Linked DNA regions of Homo sapiens: region 1 is linked to region 2. The links are contacts of gene promoters, found by promoter capture Hi-C in human tissues and cell types (Jung and others, 2019). All regions are on one chromosome and are shown on one strand. The core of a region is centred on a gene start or on the middle of the fragment in contact, and the rest is flanking DNA. Distances in the headings are between cores, read along the strand shown. Region 1 overlaps STX7 (syntaxin 7). Region 2 holds the start of ENPP1 (ectonucleotide pyrophosphatase/phosphodiesterase 1).

Region 1 (3,037 bases), core at 87-2,586, 700 kb after region 2:
AGTGTTATCTCAAATATAATTCTCTTGCATTCATTCTAAAGAGTTCGAGCCCTTTAAAACCTGTTGTTAGAGGAATGCTCCTCCCTCTCTCAATCAGCAGAGTTGTCCTTTTATGAACCTCCACCAAGTTCAGTTAAGAGTGGATACAAATAGTGAAGTCCATTTAAAACTCAACTCACAACACTGTGTGATCTTCTGGATGTTAGAAGAGATCCTCTGGGCCAACTGGGCGGGGTCACCACCAACTCCTGGAGTGTAAGACATGGTTGATGTTCTTATTCGCTAATTTCATCAGATGCTGTGCAGTTTTCTAAGCAGTCACCTAAATAATATAAAAGTCACACAGATATATTTTTTAAGTTACTGGCTTACATTTTCCAAATTAACAATCTGTGAAGTTACAAGGACAAACTTGATTAATCTAATAGAGTTGAAATCTGGCAAAGTGACACATCAAATAGCAAAACTCTCATGTCTACTAAAAAAAAAAAAACTGGACTTCAAAGGACAGAGTCATGTTAAACACATCAAACAATTAAAATAAGGTTCAAATTGCATATTTCCTTTGAAAACGTCTTTGATCTCTTCAAGAAAAATTATTAAATCCCTTACCTGTATATAATTTTAGTTGTTTACATATTTTTTCCTTAACTAAACTCCAAACAATTATAAGGCAGGGCCCACATGCTTATTTATCTTTCTCCAATATTTAAAACAACTCTTAGCACAAACAGGCATTTAAATATTTATTAAATGGAACACAGACTTCAGGCTATCCCCAGAAATTTCACTGTATTAGGTTGTGCAAAAGTAATTGCAGTTTTTACCATTACTTTTAATTGTGGTTTTTGCCATTAAAAGTAATGGTAAAAATGGCAATTACTTTTGTACCAACCTTAATATCTAATTTAACACACACACAGGACCTGCTCAGGAATGTATGATTAATAGGGCTCTAATTTTAATGGAAAAGGTTAAATCTGAAATAGCAGAGCCAACTACTGCGAAGCAAATGTCATATAAAATGTTTATCAAACCTTCCTGACAGAGGAAGGAGAACGAATGACTCTCCCCTTTCAGCAGCCAGCATCTCAGAATAGAAGAGACACTGAGATACTGCCACAGGAGGCAGGTGAGATGACATTCTCTACCTCTTCAATCCACACCACTCCAATCAGGGTTTGGAAAGAAGGTTGAAAAGGAATGTCCCTGCATACAGAACTGCGCACAGCAAAGAATTTCAACTACCGCCACCCCATCTTTTCCATGAATATGCACTGGAATACTGCAAAATTGTTGGTGGTCAATTTGTAAGCTAGCTCTCTACTAAGAGCCTGGTACATGCCCAGCATTAAACTAAGCACCTGGGAGATGCAAACAAAACAAAACACACTGACACAGTATCTGCTCAAATCAAGTTTGTCATTTAGGAGGAAGGATAAAGTTAATAATGCAAACCAACAAAAAACCCCACAAATCCATAAAAGATCACGTGCTAGGCTAAAATGAGAAGGGCTACAAAAAGAAAAAATGACCATCATCCTTGTCTGGAAAGAATTTATGAAATAGAAACATAGGATTTGGATGCTTGGTTATGACCAGTATGCAGAACAACAAAGGCAAGGACGTGAAGGCTGGGGTGGAGAGACCCAGAGCACGTGGAAAGGCCACATGCAGTATGGTATTTACAAAAGGAAGGGAAGGTTCCTGGCCAACCCTGGATCAGATGATTCACAGCTGGGACAAGGGGAAAACAACATAAAGGGAAAGAGAGGAATGGCCTAACATTTCTCGCACATCTGCGACACAAAAAGTATTTCACAGACTAATTTTTTCACAACCTCCTTCAATTAAGTGGCATTATTCTTGTTTTAATGATGAGCAAACAGCGGGCTTATTATGATTAAGTAATGGTAACCCAACCCACCCACAGGTGGAGGTGAGATTCAGTCCCAGGGTTCTGATGCCAAGGCTATCCATGCTTGCTACCACATAGAACTAATGCCACAGAAGATTTCTGGTAGAGAAGAAGCCACAGTGAAGTATGTGTCTTTGCTCTAAGGGACAGTGTTGGCAGGAAGTACAACAGCTGAACTGTTGAGACCATTAGAACAGTACTGGTTCTATGCCTGGAACTCTGGTGCACTTTGAATGTGCCTGGCCACGCTGAAAGTCCTGGTGGCTTTTAGATATTCTCCAACTTCCCTCTCAGGTACAGCTGATCTATTCTGGGCTCTCTGGGTCTCACCAAATCCTAGAGATGGATCCAAAAGCAATTTCATTAAAGGGTAAATTCAAACCTAAAGTCAGACAGCTGGACCACTACAGTGGGGAGACAGGAATAAACTTCCTTCCAGGTAGCCTTGGACTTGGGCCCAGACAGAACAAGAGTAGACATGGGGATTCAATGACACCAACACCATCCGGAACATCCTTGAAACCATGCAATTTTAAATGCATCTCCAAGTCACTTAAAAAAAAAAAAAAAAAAAAAAAAACACAGGTTTTGAATAGCCAAAGCAATTTTAAGAAAAAGAACAAAGCTGGAGGCATCTCATTGCCTGACCTCAAATTATACTAAAAGGGTATAGTAACTAAAACAGCATGATATTCATATAAAAACAGACACATAGAACAATGGAATGGAATAGAGAAGTCAGAAGTAAAGTCACATATCTACAGTCAATTGATCTTTTTGACAAAGTTGACAAAAACATACACTGAGGAAAGGACGCCCTTTTCAATACATGGTGCTGGGAAAATTGGATCGCCCCATGCGGAAGAGTGAAACTGGACCCTTATCTGTCAACATATAAAAAAAAAAATCGACTCAAGATGGATTAAAGACTTAAAAGTAATACCTAAAACGATTAAAATACTAAAAGAAAATATAGGGAAAACTCTTCTGGACATTGGTTTAGGAAAAGAATTTATGACTAAGACCTCAAAAGCACAGGCAACAAGACAAAAAACAGACAAAATGAGATTTAATTAAACTAAAAAGCTTTTGCACAGCAAAAGAAATAATAAACAGAAT
Region 2 (3,010 bases), core at 128-2,627:
CTATCTGCCTAAATAATTTCTATCTCCTGTATCAATATCCTATGTGTGACTCTATTCTGCATATATGACTTAGGTTTTAATTATTTTGTTTACGAGTTGGTCCTACCCCCCCACCCCCGCTTCCACCACACTTAAGGAAAGATACATTTTAATTCATTTTTTATATGGTATGCATAGTTGGAGGCCAAAAGATTGAGTTGAAGGATTCATTACTTGATGAATAAATGGATGGGTGGATGGATGAGTCAGTATAAATGAAGAGCATCCCAAGTTGACTATTTTAAAGGGATAACATGCATTTTATATTTGTTAAACATTCATTCTCATTTGTAAACACTTGTATATATTCATGTATTCAAAATGTATTGAAAATTAATTGTTTTCCTTGGTACCTGAAGTCAGTCCTGGGTATTGCAAAGTAGTTCGAAGTCACTGGTTTCCCTCTGTCTCACTTCACTACACACTGGTGATTTTGCTAAGTGATGAGCCAGAAAATGTACAAGTTCCAGAATCAAAGGTAAAACAAAACCCACCAAGAATCAGCTCACTGTTAGCGTCCTAGTTGAAAAATAAGGCTTATCAAAGTATTTCAGATTGCATTAACACTTTTGATATAGCTAGGTATCAGTGTCAACCTCAGGAGAGGGCAACGCCAACTCCTGAAACCTTCAATACAGAAAGTCTAGAAAAATAAGCAAATATACATACAAACAATAGCGAGAAGACTCCAGAAACCACATAAAACCGTGGGAATCGAAATATCCCTTACGTGTGTTCAGTACATGTGAACCCACGTATTTTAAGTGGACGATTTCTCTCTCAGAGTACCGTAGGTAGTGGGGGACGGGGCGCAGAGGGGGAGAAACAGAAAGTCGCCTTCCTCCATGGTTCATTTGCATTTCCATCCAGAAACTCACAGGTCGACCCCAAGACTCCACTCTCTCCCGCCTTTGAGAAGCCGGACCGGCATCGGCGGCTGCATCCTTCTCCTCCTCCCCGCTCTATTTTGGGGCCCCATGATCTCATGCCCTCTGCAGACCACACGCTGCAATTCCAGCCCAGCCCGCGCCGCGAGGCCACGCAGGGCGATTCCTGCAAGTGTCGGGAGGGTGGCCGGGGCGCGGGGAGGGGACGGCTTGGGGGGAAGTTTAAGACACGCCCACGTAAGGGACCCAAAATAACCGACACACAGAGTGCCCGAAATCAGACAGGAAGCCAAATAATCCGGGGCGTTGAGTCGCTTTGCCCTGACTGCGAGAGCCGGGTGTAGGGCGGGGAGCCAAGGATCTGACCGCGAGGGGCGGGCGCGGCGGGGAGGGGCGGGGCGGGGCGGGCGGCGCGGGGCCTATTAAAGGCGCGGCCGGGCAGCGGGGCCGGAGCGGCCGGGGCCACGATGGAGCGCGACGGCTGCGCGGGGGGCGGGAGCCGCGGCGGCGAGGGCGGGCGCGCTCCCCGGGAGGGCCCGGCGGGGAACGGCCGCGATCGGGGCCGCAGCCACGCTGCCGAGGCGCCCGGGGACCCGCAGGCGGCCGCGTCCTTGCTGGCCCCTATGGACGTGGGGGAGGAGCCGCTGGAGAAGGCGGCGCGCGCCCGCACTGCCAAGGACCCCAACACCTATAAAGTACTCTCGCTGGTAGGTCCGCGGCCAGGCCCCGGCGCCCGGGAGGGCTGGGAGTACGGGGAGGGCGGCGCCGAGCTCCTGCGCTCTCAGCGCAGTCAGCACCGGGCACCGGAGAGAGGCATGGTCCGGGAGTGCTTCTTCGCCCGCGCGCTCTCCTCCGCAGCCTTTGCAAGTGCCCTACACAGCCGCCCCTGCCAGGTACCTTGCCAGGGCAGGATGGTTCACTCTCACTTGAATTATGGATGCCTGTGAAAGCAGGCTGTTCAAAACGGTCATCCTTAGAAATACTCGACCCCCTGCCCCAGGAGAGTACGGGTTTTTAGAGGAGAAAAATGTCAAACGCGAAAGTTGTTGGTCTTAAGAAGGTGCATCAATGTGTTGCTTCTTTTAGGGGGCTCTGGGCGCAGTATACATGACTTCACTTGGGTTAACTGATTGCAGTTGAAGAGTTAGCGGAGCTCTTTAAGTTTTATTAGGAACTCTACGGAACACTTTTTCCCTTTCGCTCCGTTTTGGAATTTCCTTGCAGGTGCTCAGAAATTCCATGGATGTTCACATTATGTGACTGAAGAAACCTTTATGATTCTTTGCCCACTCTTCTAACCAGAGGCTACACGGTTTGTGTTGCTAACAAAAGCTACCTATTACTCCTCTGCTATTTTGCTATGACATTTGCAGGACCCACAGTCAACTTCATGAAATGTGGGGGTTGGTTTTTATTCTGAATTCATGGTGGGAAGTGCTGATTGAGAGAAGGCCTGGATTCCTGGCTGTTATTATTTGCTGAGGCCTTGCGTAACTGTCCCTAAACCTCAATTTCTAATGTGTGAAAATGGGACAACATCAACTCCCTTGTGCATTGCATGGGATTATTGTGAAAATCAAGCTGAAGAATGTAGGTAGGGAAGTAAATTGAAAACAGCAAGGAAATAGAATCATTTTTATTGTATTATATGGAAATCACAGATTTCTATGTATAGTGTACCCTAAAATATATCCCCTTACATATGATTGAATAATGCTTTGTAGAAAAATTTCTAATTTTTCAAGTCTCCTTTCATTTTGTATGCATTTCCATTTTCACTATATTTGGGACATCATGGAGATGCTATAATACTTTGAGGAATCAATCTTCCTAGACTTAAGAGATGGTGCCGTATGCTTAGTACTTAAAAAGAAGCCTTAGTTTCACAGAATAAGTACCCCAAGCCACATGATGTTTGCATCTCAAGATAAAATTTTGCATCTTGTAACACTGTTTTGAGTCTATAATAACACAATATTGATGAGAACTTAGTCTCTTGAGTCACCTTTTAAAAATTTTGTTAATGGAAGACCTTAGCTTTTACAACCTGATCACTTAAATTGTTTAGTATTAATACCTTGAGG

The links. The method cuts DNA at HindIII sites, captures the fragments that hold promoters and counts their contacts. A contact is called where the count stands out against the background at its distance.
Region 1: a contact is called between a fragment that was not itself captured here and the fragment with the promoter of ENPP1 in region 2, in 1 of the 25 tissues and cell types used here (IMR-90 fibroblasts).

The regions. Positions count from the first base shown.
Region 1 is chr6:132,503,267-132,506,303 of GRCh38, forward strand. It overlaps STX7 (syntaxin 7), which reads right to left. Exons shown (of 10, transcript NM_003569.3): 2 at 180-322. The coding sequence starts at 264. Among named protein-coding and RNA genes, the nearest start is that of STX7, 8.3 kb to the right of the region's middle. The HindIII fragment of the contact is 6,888 bases long and covers 1-3,037 here.
Region 2 is chr6:131,806,643-131,809,652 of GRCh38, forward strand. ENPP1 (ectonucleotide pyrophosphatase/phosphodiesterase 1) reads left to right here and starts at 1,378. Exons shown (of 25, transcript NM_006208.3): 1 at 1,378-1,633. The coding sequence starts at 1,394. The HindIII fragment of the contact is 10,154 bases long and covers 1-3,010 here.